3 separate regions of the Homo sapiens genome follow, and regions 1 and 2 are each linked to region 3. Evidence: promoter capture Hi-C in human tissues and cell types (Jung and others, 2019). All regions are on one chromosome and are shown on one strand. The core of a region is centred on a gene start or on the middle of the fragment in contact, and the rest is flanking DNA. Distances in the headings are between cores, read along the strand shown.

What was found. Contacts are between HindIII fragments. The study calls those that stand out against the background at their distance.
Region 1: a fragment that was not itself captured here is called in contact with the fragment with the promoter of QRFP in region 3 in 3 of the 25 tissues and cell types used here (aorta, dorsolateral prefrontal cortex and spleen).
Region 2: the fragment with the promoter of AIF1L here is called in contact with the fragment with the promoter of QRFP in region 3 in 2 of the 25 tissues and cell types used here (mesendoderm cells and pancreas).

Annotation. Positions count from the first base shown.
Region 1 is chr9:130,720,201-130,724,536 of GRCh38, reverse strand. It overlaps a transcript of ABL1 not described here. Among named protein-coding and RNA genes, the nearest start is that of EXOSC2, 29 kb to the right of the region's middle. The HindIII fragment of the contact is 5,418 bases long and covers 1-4,336 here.
Region 2 is chr9:131,094,058-131,098,562 of GRCh38, reverse strand. AIF1L (allograft inflammatory factor 1 like) reads right to left here and starts at 2,032. Exons shown (of 6, transcript NM_031426.4): 1 at 1,903-2,032; 2 at 1,700-1,761. The coding sequence starts at 1,933. LAMC3 (laminin subunit gamma 3) reads right to left here. Exons shown (of 28, transcript NM_006059.4): 28 at 4,090-4,505. RefSeq lists enhancers at 1,196-1,695, 3,736-4,237. The HindIII fragment of the contact is 10,554 bases long and covers 1-4,505 here.
Region 3 is chr9:130,894,057-130,898,061 of GRCh38, reverse strand. It overlaps QRFP (pyroglutamylated RFamide peptide), which reads left to right and starts at 1,250. Exons shown (of 3, transcript NM_198180.3): 1 at 1,250-1,485; 2 at 2,081-2,365. RefSeq lists enhancers at 1,755-2,441, 2,442-3,129, 3,918-4,005. The HindIII fragment of the contact is 19,380 bases long and covers 228-4,005 here.

The DNA.
Region 1 (4,336 bases), core at 928-3,427, 170 kb after region 3:
AGCCCAGCCAAGAATTTCAAAGATTAGCCACACAATAAATGTTCTGGTTTTTAAAAATACAAAAATAAATAAATAAAATAAACATATATAAGTATATTCATTGGGAAAGAAACCCCAGAACCAGATAAAAAGTCCTAGGATACATAAGAAAATAAGTTAGCTATTTGAGAACTTTCATTCCTTGTAAGTGAATAAAAAGTTTAATTTCTCATTTAGTCCATTTAATATCATTCTTATCAAGAATTTTTTTTATGGAGAGCCTATGTATTCAGCATTATGCTGGGGAAACAGAAAATGAGATGAAACCTGCATTCACAAGCTTACAGTTTACTTGAGGAGTTCGAGGCTGCAGTGAACAGTGATCATATCATTGTACTCCAGCCTGGGCGACAAAGCAAGACCTTATCTCTTAAAAATTTTTTTAAAAGGCCACGCATGGTGGCTCACGCCTGTAATCCCAGCACTTTGGAAGGCCAAGGCAGGTGGATAACGAGGTCAGGAGATCGAGACCATACTGGCTAAGATGGTGAAACCTGGTCTCTACTAAAAATACAAAAATTGGCCAGGTGTGGTGGCGGGCGCCTGTAGTCCTAGCTACTCGGGAGGCTGAGGCAGGAGAATGGCATGAACCCAGGAGGCGGAACTTGCAGTGAGCCAAGATCGCGCCACTGCACTCCAGCCTGGGTGACAGAGCGAGACTCCATCTCAAAAAAAAAAGTTAAAAAAAAGTTAAAAAATAAAAAACAAACCTACCTACGTTTCAACACTCTCTTCCATGAAACTCACATAAAACTATTAGGAAATACTACTAGGAAGTATATGATTATGTATTCATTTGTGTTGCAGAAGAGTTACAAGGGCAGAAGTTACAGAAAATTTAATGAGGACCAGAGATGTAAAATATGGTTTCAGAAGGGAGGGGGGACTGGAAGAGAGTGTTGAAAGGTTAAGCAGGTTTGTTTTTTGTTTGTTTGTTTGTTTTTTACTTTTAAAGGATAGGGTCTTGCTTTATCACACAGGCTGGAGTACAATGATATGATCACAGTTTGCTTCAGCCTCGAACTCCTGGACTCAAGTAATCCTTCTGCCTCAGCCTCCCAAGTAGCTAGACAAGCACAGGACATTATTATGCCTAGCTAACTTTTTTATTTTTAGTACTAATAGGGTGTTGCTATGTTGTCCAGGCCACTCTCTCAAACTCCTGGTCTCAGAGGACCGTCCCACCTTGGGTTCCCAAAGTGCTGGGATTACAGGTGTGAGCCACTGCACCTGGCCAGCAGGTAGGATCTGAACACACAGGGGAGTGACATCAGGGGCACAACTACCAAAAAGGCAGGGACGAACACAGCAAGGAGTCAGGGAACTGCAGAGGCACAGGGCAGAGAAGGCCTTCGGGAGACCTCCTCTTACTGAAGCCCATCCTCAGTAGCCATTTTAATCTTTTTACCCCCTAGTCACAGAAAATATGCCCGACACATTCCTATGGGTTTAATTCCCAGCTAAATCATGTTAACACATCCCTCTCCCTCCCATTCAAAAAATGCTTCTATTTGCAACACACTTCACAACACATCAGTGTGTTCACACTTGGAGATCTGAAGCACAAGCACGGTTCTGTCCTGAACTGATACAAAATGATTTCACATTTTTTCCCACTTTCATTTTCTTTGACAACATGCTTCATTTAAATGAAGTAAAACTCTTTTGGTCAAATCATCTTTGATCATCTTTCTTTACTTACCCCACAATTGAAACTTCTGTTTTCTTCTATATTACAAATTTCTTAAAATGGGTAGTAAGGTTTCATGAAAAATAAGAAGGCCATACAAAATGTATTAGACTATTGGAAACAACTGAATGCTTATAAAAAATGTACATACATGGCCAGGTGCAATGGCTCACCTGTACGATCCCATTGCTTTGGGAGGCTAAGGCAAGAGGATCACTGGAGCCCAGGAGTTCAAGGCTGCAGTGAGCTATGACTGTGCCACTACACTCCAGCCTGGGTGACAAAGCAAGACCCTGTCTCTAAAATAAAGTACATACCTCCAATTTTGCATTTTCACAGTCCACGTGCCACAATCCAATCCCTAGCATTAAGTAGATGGATATAATCTTTCCAAATAACCTTTTTATTTTTTTTTGAGATGGAGTCTCGCTCTGTTGCCCAGGCTGGAGTGCAGTGGTGTGATCTTGGCTCACTGCAATCTCTGCCTCCCAGGTTCAAGCGATTCTCCTGCCTCAGCCTCCTGAGTAGCTGGGATTACAGGCATATGCCACCATGCCCTGCTAATTTTTGTATTTTTAGTAGAGATGGGGTTTCACCATGTTGGTCAGGCTGGTCTCGAACTCCTGACTTCAGGTGATCCACCCGCCTCAGCCTCCCAAAGTGCTGGGATTACAGGCGTGAGCCACCACGCCCAGCCTGTCCAAATAACCTCTTTGAGAATCGGATAGCCAGGCACGGTGGCTCACGCCTGAAATCCCAGCACTTTGGGAGGTCGAGCCAGGTAGATCATGAGGTCACGAGATCAAAACCATCCTGGCTAACAGGGTGAAACCCCGTCTCTAATAAAAATACAAAAAATTAGGCTGAGGCAGGAAAGAGAATCGCTTGAACTCGGGAGGTGGAGGTTGCAATGAGCTGAGATTGTGCCACTGCACTCCAGTCTGGGCAACAGAGCAAGGCTCTGTCTCAAAAAAAAAAAAAAAAACAAAAAAAAACCTGACAAATTTAACTTTAATGCCTATAGGATCCAATAATTGCACTTCCTCCCACCTTCTAATGTATACAGATACTTAGTATAATTTTATTTTATTTTATTTTGAGACAGGGTCTCACTCTGTCACCCAGATTGGAGTGCAATAGCACCATCACAGCTCACTGCAGCCTTGGCTTCCCAGGCGCAGGTGATTCTCCCACTTTAGCCTCTTGAGTAGCTGGGATTACAGGCGTGTACCACCACGCCCAGCTAATTTTTTGTACTGTTAGTAGAGATGGGGTTTCGCCATGTTGCCCAGGCTGGTCTTGAATTCCTGGGCTCAAGTGATCCATCTGCCTTGGCCTCCCAAAGTGCTGGGATTACAGGCATGAGCCACCGCACCTGGCCTTAGTATAATTTTAAGAGTAATGAGAATTAGTGTTTGTTTTGTTTTTTTGAGACAGAGCCTTGCTCTGTCACCCAGGCTGGAGTGCGGTGGCATGATCTTGGCTCACTGCAACCTCTGCTTCCCAGGTTCACGTGATCCCTCTGCCTCAGCCTCCCATGTAGGTGGGACTATAGGTGTGTGCCACCATGCCGACTAATTTTTGTATTTTTAGTAGAGACGAGGTTTCACCATGTTGGCCAGGGTGGTCTCGAACTCCTGACCTCAAGTGATCCGCCCGCCTTGGCCTCCTAAAGTGCTGGGATGACAGGCGTGAGTCACAGCGCCCGGCCTACAGTGTTGATTTATCAAGTGTCTATTATTTTAAATAAAGTTTTGAGAACCATAAGTGGTTTTACCTGATGGTAAATATTTTTTTTTTTTTTGAGACAGGGTCTTGCTCTGTTGCCCAGGCTGGAGTGCAGTGGCGCAATCACAGCTTACCACTGCAGCCTCGACCTTCATTTCAATAAAAGGCAACTCTATTCTTCCAGTTATTCAGTTCGAAAACCTGAGAGTCACACTTGGCCCCTCTCACACCCCCATATCCCACATCTAATCCGAGAGCAAATCTTGTCGGTTCTGACCCTCCACCCAGTGCCACCACTTTGGTCCAAGCATCATCACTCTTACCTGGCTCTGTGCAATCAATGCCCCCGTGGAATCCCTGCTCCCTTGTCCTCCTTCAGATCATAGCAGCCAGAGAGATTCTATTTCATACTGAAACATACATCAGATAGTATAGTCCCCTCGGAAAATTCTCCAAGGCCTTCCCACATCATATGAATCAAAGTCAAAATCCTTGAAATGGGCCAATAAGGCCACCCTCTCCTTCAGCCATTCTCTTCCCACCCTCCATTTTACCTCCTGCATCTCTCCTTTTGCTCTTTGCTCTGGTGCAGTGGCCTCTAGGCTGCTCCTTGAAACTAGCAAGCTCTGCCTCAGGTTTCTGCATCCTGGTTCCCTCGGCCTGAAATTCTTTCACATATTTCAACAGGGCCTGCTGCTCATCTTCCTCCTTCGGGTCTTTAATCAAATGCCGCCCTCTCAGTCAGGCCTCTCTAGCCACCCTAACTAAAATTACACCTCCTACCCCATTCCCTGTCCCCTTCTCTATGTTATTCTTCTCCTCAGCACATATCACTAACATATCTGTATTTTATTTACTTAGCTTATTTATGATGTGTCT
Region 2 (4,505 bases), core at 783-3,282, 200 kb before region 3:
CCTCACCCCCATCTCCAGCTGTCTGTGGCTCAGGGTCCCGCTGGCTGTGGGTGGCTCCAGCCAGCTCAGAACCCGCCTGGCCAAGTGACCCAGGGGGCTATATGAGGTCGGGGTTCCAGCCTTCTGTCCAGAGGGCTAGAGCAGCCAAGCCCCAGGCTGGGCAGGCACACAGTGATCTGGGAAGGAGCCCAGCAGGGATCCGAGACCCCTGAGCACCCCAGCCAGATGTCCGGGCAACCTTCCAGTTGTGCTCAAGATGCCCCCAGGAAGCAGGGTGAGGGTGGCGGTGAGGAGGCCGGAGCTTACCTGGAGGGGGAACCCTGAGGTCCCCAGAGCCCTGTAGCTGGGGACCGAATGGGAGTCCTGTAGCCAGCGGATGGAAAACAGACAGGCTGCCTACATCCAAGCAGTCCAAGAAAACCAAGGGGGAATCAAGGCTGCACACTGCTGGCAAGAGGCAATACCACAACCTGGCCCCAGGCTCGGACCCGCCTCCCACAGCCTTCTCGGGCTCTGCTGACCTCACCAGCGGCCCACTTCCAGACTGTCAGCTGGGCTTAGACCCTGGGTGTCCAGGGGACCAGAGGAGCCTGCAGGGGGAATGCCAAGCCTTGTTTCAGCGGGCGTGCCTCTGCCACCAGTTAAGAAGGAAACTGGGAGACATCCACCTCAGGAAATAATGCTAGTTCTGTGAGTGCTTCCTGAATGCTGGGTGCTGGGCCATGCAGGCCACGGGCCTTCCCTCTCTGAGCCTGCACAATGCCCTGCTTGGAGATGAGAGGCCCTTTGCTGAGGACCACAGAGCTGGCACACAGTGGAGGCCAGATCTGAGCCCAGGTCTTGCAGAACTTTAAAGCCACTGGCTGTGCTGCCTTTGAGCTTTGGCCAACCCAGACAGGTCCTGATATCTTTCCTTATCTTCTAGAATCTATGTAAATTTATGGAGCTCTCACTGGATGCCTGGCAACAACAGGAAAGATTTCTTTTGAGAAATCCACCAGGACCAGCAAGAAAAGCATTGAATCCCTTAAGGCAATCTTTCCTGAAAGTTGGAGTGAAGAGGAGTGGTGTGTTTGAGGGAGGCGGGAGGCTGGAGACCACGGGGAAGTGCCAGGATCTCTACGCCCATCAGAGTCTTCTATTTGTACTTTTGAATCCCTTATAACAACAATAGCTAAGGCCAGGCGTGGGGGCACATGCCTGTAGTCCCAGCTACTCGGGAGGATGAGGAGGGAGGACCGTTTGAATCCCAAAGGTGGAGGCTGCAATGAGCTGAGATTGGGCCACCGAACTCCAGCCTGGGCGACAGACCAGCAAATGACCCGGAGCCTGTGTTCTGAGCTGGAGAGATCACTGGCCTAGGGCCCTTCCCGCGCCAAATCCTTGGGCTGCTCCCAAGCGGGCTTGCGGGGAGCCACGAGCCGGCTGGCATCCGAGCTCCTGACCCGGCCCCACCTCCCCAGTCCCCAGTTGCAAGAGTAACAACTTGCAACCCGAGACCGGAGGCGGGAGGCGGAGGCGGACCTACCTGGAGTCGGAGGCGACGGGGCTGGGGGCGGAGGGAGGCACCTGAGGGAAGCCCAGGGGAAGGGAAGGAAGAGGGTAGATCTGGAGGCGGGCACGGCCTCGCGGAAGGAGAGGTGGCACCCGCGCAGCGCGCGGCTCGGGACTCGCGTGCTGCCCTGGGCGCGGGGCTTACCCGGTTGATCTCGGCCAGCCTCCTCTCCTGCCGGGCTTTGAGCAAGCCGAACGCCTTCCCTCCTGGAGGAGACAAAGAGGCGGCCTGGGAAGCGGGGTCCTCTTCGGGCCACGCGCCCCCGTCCCCGCCCGCTTCCCGCGCGCGGTGGACCCCGCGGTCCGCCCGGCGCGCACAGGTGGCTGCTCGGGGACGGCGGCGCCTACCTTGGAACCTGTTGCTGAGCTCGCCCGACATGGCGAGCGCGGGGCTCCCGCCGGCTCCAGGCTTCGCGGACGCGGCGAGGGACGAGGAGGAGGCACAGGCGCCTGGTCCGGGCTCCGGCTAGCTGCGTGTGGCCGCGGGACCGAGGGGCGGAGGAACGGCGCGGGCGGCCGACACACCCCTCCCTCCGCTGCCGGCCCCTCCCTCCCTCCCTCCCGCCTCGCCCCTCCCCTCCCGCCTCTCCCCTCCCCTCCCGCCTCTCCCCTCCCCTCCCGCCACCCGCTCCGCGGGCTTCAAAGCGGCTATTATGCGGGACGCTGAGCCCGCCGGCCGACCCCTCTGCTGGAGGACGCGGAAAGTGCAAAGCGCGGGGCGGCCGCACCCCTCCTCTCTGCCCCTCCCCGGACCTCAGCAAGTCCCTGCCACACAAATGAAATGCGAGGATCTTAGCATGAACTCCATGGGGTGGTTGTGAGGACCAAGTGCCGTCGGGGAGTCGGCGCTCAAACATCACTGCTGCCTTTGGGGCAGTGCGGCTGCTGTGACAACAGTGGCCCGTCAAATCAATTGGAATGAATTCGTGTCTTGTTAATAAAAGAGATTTCTTGGGCACTCACAGGCACTTTGCACCGTACACCAGTCATTTCATTCTCAAAACTCCATGAAATAGGACTTGGCATTCCCATTTCCAGAAGAGAAAAGTCAGGAAGCTGGAGCTGGGGCGCAAGGCCACCAGGAGGAAAGACCAGCCCATGACTCCAGGAAGAGCGGAGCTCAGGATGCAGGATAGGGTACCTGTGGCCAGGGTGACCATGAAGTCTAGTGTCCAAATCAGGACAGCCAGAGTCAAGGGAGCACTCCTCATAATGATGCTGGGCCACAGGCATAGACAGGCGCTGTCCAGGGCAGGCAGCGCTAGGAATGGCCCCACCGTGCATCTGACTCCTAGGGTAGGGACCCTGAGATCATCTTTCTTATTTATTTATTTTTTTCGAGGCAGAGTCTTGCTCTGTTGCCCAGAGCTGGAGTGCAGCGGCTTGATCTCGGCTCACTGCAACCTTCGCCTCCGGGTTCAAGTGATTCTCCTGCCTCAGCCTCCCAAGTAGCCGGGACTACAGGCACACACCACCACGCCCAGCTAATGTTTGTATTTTTAGTAGAGACGGGGTTTCATCATGTTGGCAAGGTTTGTCTCGAACTCCTGACCTAAGGTGATCCACCTGCCTCGGCCTCCCAAAGTGCTGGGATTACAGGCGTGAGCCACCACGCCCAGCCGAGATCATCATTTTTCTGTGGCTGTCCCTGGGGAGGGAAGTGCCCAGCAAGGGGCTAGGCAGAATGGGATGGGGCTGAGGTCAGGGCAGCAGTCCAGGGGGCAGGCCCCTCCTCCCCAGTAAGACCAGCGCCCACCTCTCCTAGCTGACGCTCCTCTGTCCACTCACCCAAGGGTTTGGATTTGGCCAAGCTGCATGACCTTAGGCGAGGCACTTGATCTGGCTGAGCTTCAGTCCCCTGATCTTCACAATGAAGTAACCCAGAACGCACTAAGCAGGGGCTTTTGTAACTTTGATGACTTGCTGGATGGTTTAAGCAGAGAGTAAAAGCTTAGCGTTACCACCCTTGGTGGATGGGAGCTGACTTAGGACAGAGCCCTCATAATGCACTTCCCTCTCCAGGCTCCAACAGCCTATTGCCCTGGCCGGTTGGGCTGGTTGGCTCCAGTCAGCCATCCTACAGGGCAGGGGCCACCCCACCTTCTGCTCAGCTGCTGGACTGCATTGCTAGCCAGATGTTCAACAGCTGCCGCATTCCACCCGGCAGCGGCCCCACCTCTGGGGCCAGAGAATAGATCAGCACATGCACCAGGCATGATCAGACTGCGTGAGTCACAACATGTCAGGCCCGAGTTCTCCACCCGTCGGGGATGCTGGGACTGAGCTGAGCTGGATCCCACGGCTTGAGTGGATAAAGGCTGAGTGCCAAGAGCAGGCACCAGGACGACTGTGTGCCATCGGCTGAGAAACTGGAGGGAGGCGGGAGGGGGACATCAGACCCTATCCCAGAGGTCTTGGAAGAACTCCATATTCTCGACATCACTTACACCAGACGCCAATCACCAAACTCACTGTGCAGCAGCAGCTCCCCCATCTTCGGCCTCTCCACCTCTGCCCAGACATCTAGGGACCAAGTCACTCCTAGCTCAGTTTAATCATGTCAATCCCCCACCGTAGCCTTGATTTTACAGTTTTCTGTGGAGGAGCACACCTCTTCTCTGAACACCATCTCCCATTAGGTTGGGGGGTGGCACCGGTCATCCATTATTGGCCTTAGATCCAGAGATCCTCATTATCCTGAACGGGGGTTGGTGGGACTTCACCTAAGCTGAGAAGCTGGAATCAGGACAGAGTCACCAGCTTGTCTCTTGCAAGCACTGGACCTGATGACATGTACACCTGGGGCCATTATGGGGGATGGCGGTAGGGGTGGGTGTCCTCTCCTATCAGGCACAAGAAAAACAAAGAAAGCCACTCTGCAAAGAGAAAAGAATGGGCCGGTTGCAGTGGCTCATGCCTGAAATCCCAGAACTTTAAGAGGCCAATGCAGG
Region 3 (4,005 bases), core at 1-2,500:
AGGGAACCCCACAGGCTTCGAGGTGGTCCACGGACTCCACCCCCAGAGCGGCTTCCTGCACCACCAGCCCCACCACCCTCACGCCTCGCCTCCCTGCATTTACCCGACAGCAGAAAAAGCCTCCAGCGCTGGAAGCCGCCCCGATGGGTACTGCCACTCTTGGACTGATCTAGCCCCGGCCACCCTGTGCATCCAGGCAGCCCAGACCCTGCCTATCTCGGCTGCTGGTGGCAAACAGTGGCACAGTTGTCACCCCCAATTGCTCAAGAGGTGGGGGAACCCAGATGCTTCCAGGGGCCCAGGAAGGGCATCTGAAAGCAATTTTTCCGTCCAGGAGTTCCAGGGGTGGAGGGGACCAGGCAAGTCCCTGGAGTCAGAAGGTTTGGCACCAAATCCAACGCCTGACTGGGCTCCAGGCACCCCGGTCTGAAGGGGGCAGGCGGGGACCTGAGGCTGGGGAACATGTGGGCCACGTGGGGACCCCTCATCCTCACCCCAATATTGCTCCCACCCCAGACCAGCCCCTCACATGCAGGACATTCTGTGACCACCTCTCAGAGCCACAGACCTCAGTCCCGCAAAAGGACTCCGGGCCCTGGTGGTTTCAAAGCAGAACCTTTTCTGGGAGCTCAACATGTCAAACACAGCAAAGTGGGGCTTGGCCTGAGGGGCACAGGGGCGCGTGCAGGGCACAGGGGTGTGTGCGGGGCACAGGGGTGCATGCAGGGCACAGGGGTGCGTGCGGGGCACAGGGGTGCCTGCGGGGCACAGGGGTGCATGTGGGTCACAGGGGTGCCTGCGGGGCAGAGAGGTGCCTGTAGGGCAGAGGAGTGTCTGTGGGGCAGAGGGGTGCGTGTGGGGCAAAGGGGTGCCTGTAGGGCAGAGGGGTAGCCTGTAGGGGAGTGGGGTGCCTGTAGGAGAGGGGTGCCTGCGGGATTGGACCCCATGTTGCCTTCCCCAACTTCCATGGCCATTCCTGAGGAATTCTGCAAAGCACAGCTTGGGAACTTGAACCTCGCTTTACACCAAGGGAGCACTGAGGCACCCAGAGGGCAGGCATCCGGTCCAGGCTCATAGCACGGTAGAGACCCACCCTGGGCGGCACCCCATGGATAACTGGTGCCCGCTGTCAGAATCAACCAGCACTAACCAGGGAGACAGAAGGACACCACACCTCCCGTCTCACGAGCACACACACGTGTACGCACGTGTGCACATACTCATGTGGGGGCATACACACACATGCACACACAGGACAGGGGCACCTCAGGCCATCGGAGGCAGCCCTGGCCTGGGGGATGGAAGCTGGTTCTGGCCAGCAAAGCTCAGTCATCGGCTTCAATCCGCAGACCCTCCGCCCGAACCTGGGCGCTCAGCCCCGAAGTGGAGGATCGAGATTCCAGTGCCTTCCTCAGGTCTCTGGGGAAGTGTCCACAGGCTCTCTATTCCCATGACTTCTGATCCCCCAGCAGCCGGGATGCAGGGGTAGGTCGGCTGGGTGAGGGCCCCTGGAATGGGGGAGGCCCTCTGTGCTCAGTTCCTGACAGTGGTGGGGTGGGGCTGCCTCATCACCCCCCTGCCTGCTCTCAGTGGAGGGAGAATCTCTGCCGGGCAAGGAGCAGAGGCTGGGTCCTCCTGCTGGCCTCCCAGAGGTGACCCTCGGTGACAGTAGGGGGCCACCCAGGGTATGCGGTGGGAGGGGCTGGGGGCCACAGGCAAATGCTCCACTGCTGTCCTGGGCATCTGCCGTGCCCCCTTGGTTGGTTCCTGGGTAACAGGCCGCTGAGGGCTCCACCTGCCGGGGAGGTGCACCTGGCTTAGCCGCGCAGCCCGGTGCCTGTGAAACACGGGCCTCATGGGTGTCTGTGGCTTTCCTGCCCATGAAAGCCATCCTGCAAGCTGGGCAGTAGGTGTGTCGGGTAGATGTCCACCCACCCCATGTCCTCTCCGGAGCGTGAGGTGCCAACCCAGCAAAGGCAGGACCCTTAGGGTGAAGGGTGGGCTTGGAACCCCCGCCAAGGGACTCGAGGGTCTGTGCCCGCAATTTGCAGTTAATGATGCTGTCTGCTCTCCTCCAAAGGGCAGCCCGCCTGCCCTCTCATCAGACTACATCCTGTGTGAGGTTGTTTTTATCAACGCGGTCAGCACTGCCCCTCTTCAACAACAGCGTCCCCAATGGAATCCCAGGGTCAGGAATGCGCAGCAGGCAGTCGGCAGAGCAGCAAGCGCACCGCGGGCCATATAAAGCAGGGAGAGCCCAGGGGCCATGCCTCCTGGACGAGGACCCAGAGCAGCTCTGCCCAGCCCAGCCCCGGAGCCCAGCGATCCACCAGCCAGCCTTCCTGGGAGCAGTCCCAGCCACACGGTGAGCATAGCTGCCCTGTCCCCAGCAGGAACCCCAGCTCAGGCCCTGCCCAGGCAGGAGCCAGGCATGGGCAGTCAGAGGGCACACAGAAGCACAGGGAGGGAGTGCCCGGAGAGGGGACACCAGTGCCTCCCCTGCCAACAGCCCAGAGCAGCACAGATTGGTCACGGCTGCCCTGCCAGGGCTGGGACCCAGCCTCACCCGTGCTTTTCCTGTCCCTTCCTGGCTGTGGGGCCTGAAGCCCTGACTCGCGCTGGGGCCGCCTGTCCCGTGATGAGCATCCCCACTTTCTACCAGATTCTTGAAGGGGTGCATGAACCCCTAAAAGGGGTGAAGGGCCACTCCAGGGCCTGCTCTGTCAGGCTGTCTCCTTTCTAGACACCCAGAGGCCACTCCCGGGTGGATTTATCCACCAGGATGCAACGGTCCCTGGTCCACATCGCAGTCAGCAAAGTGCTTCCTATGGGGAGGAGGGAATGGGCTGGGCCGCTGCAGAAAGTCACCTCGTGGAAGCCCCCACTCTGCCTGCGCCCTGATGGAAAGGTTTTCCTGGCAGCATGAGGGAGGTCACTCCATCCCTGGGGGACGAAAGCTTAGAAGAACTGGATTTGGGTAGAAAGTGGGGTTGCATGTATTATTTTTTTAAAAGCTTCCTGGCTGAGCTCGCTTCTTTGAAATGTGTTCGAGGGAGCCATTTCTGGAAAGGGCTCTGGGGACTCCTGTACTGTCTTCTCCAGGGCCGGTGCTCTCTAGTCTAGCCTCAGTTTGACTCTGCGGAGGACAAGCCAGCTCCAGCTCCCCCGCGGTCATTGTCAAAAAGGTTTTCTTTGCCAGACAAGGGAGCAAGTGTTACCAAGGCAGGTTCATTACAGGAGGCTGGGTTTCAGATCCCCCGAGTGCCATGTGGAGTACAGAGGAGGGAGTTAGGGCACGCCTTCCTGAGTCAAGCCCAGTTAGACCTGGGATTGAACTCTAGCTCTGGCACTGATAAGGCCATGAGATCTGGGGCAAGTCACCTCAGCTGTTTGAGACCGACACCACCCCTGTGAAATAGGAGGGTTGGGAGTACCTAGCAGATATGTATGCTTCTTGAAGAAGCCGTCTGGCCATTAGAATCATGAATCCAGAGCCTCCACTTTCTGGCTGTGTGGCCTGGGCACAATCTCAGTTTTTCTGACAGTTTTGTTGCCTGAAAAAGTGGGACTGGCCGGACCTACCAAGCAGGAGTACTATGAAGATGAAGTACAATCACATGTGTGAGCTCTTGGCTCAGAGCCTGGCAGACCTACGGTGCCCAGGCCCCAGTGGTGTCCACACACTCCTTCCCAGGTGGGTGTCCGAATTAGGCCAGGACCATCCAATCTGTTTCTGGCTTTCAGGAGCAACTCGTTCCCACGTGAAAGAGACATTAGCAGGATGTCCCAGCTAAACAGCATAGCTAGACCCATTTATTATCCAGTTGAACACTAAGGGAGATTGATGCTTTTAACTTTCCACCCCATGGCTCTGCAATGATATGGCCATTTTATAATAAGAGAAAAATGAGCATACATTTGCTGACTCTCCCGGGGCCGCCTGGGCACTGCTCTGCCAGCCAGCAGCGGTGGATTTACGGTGCTAAGCTGCCCAGGCACGCAGAT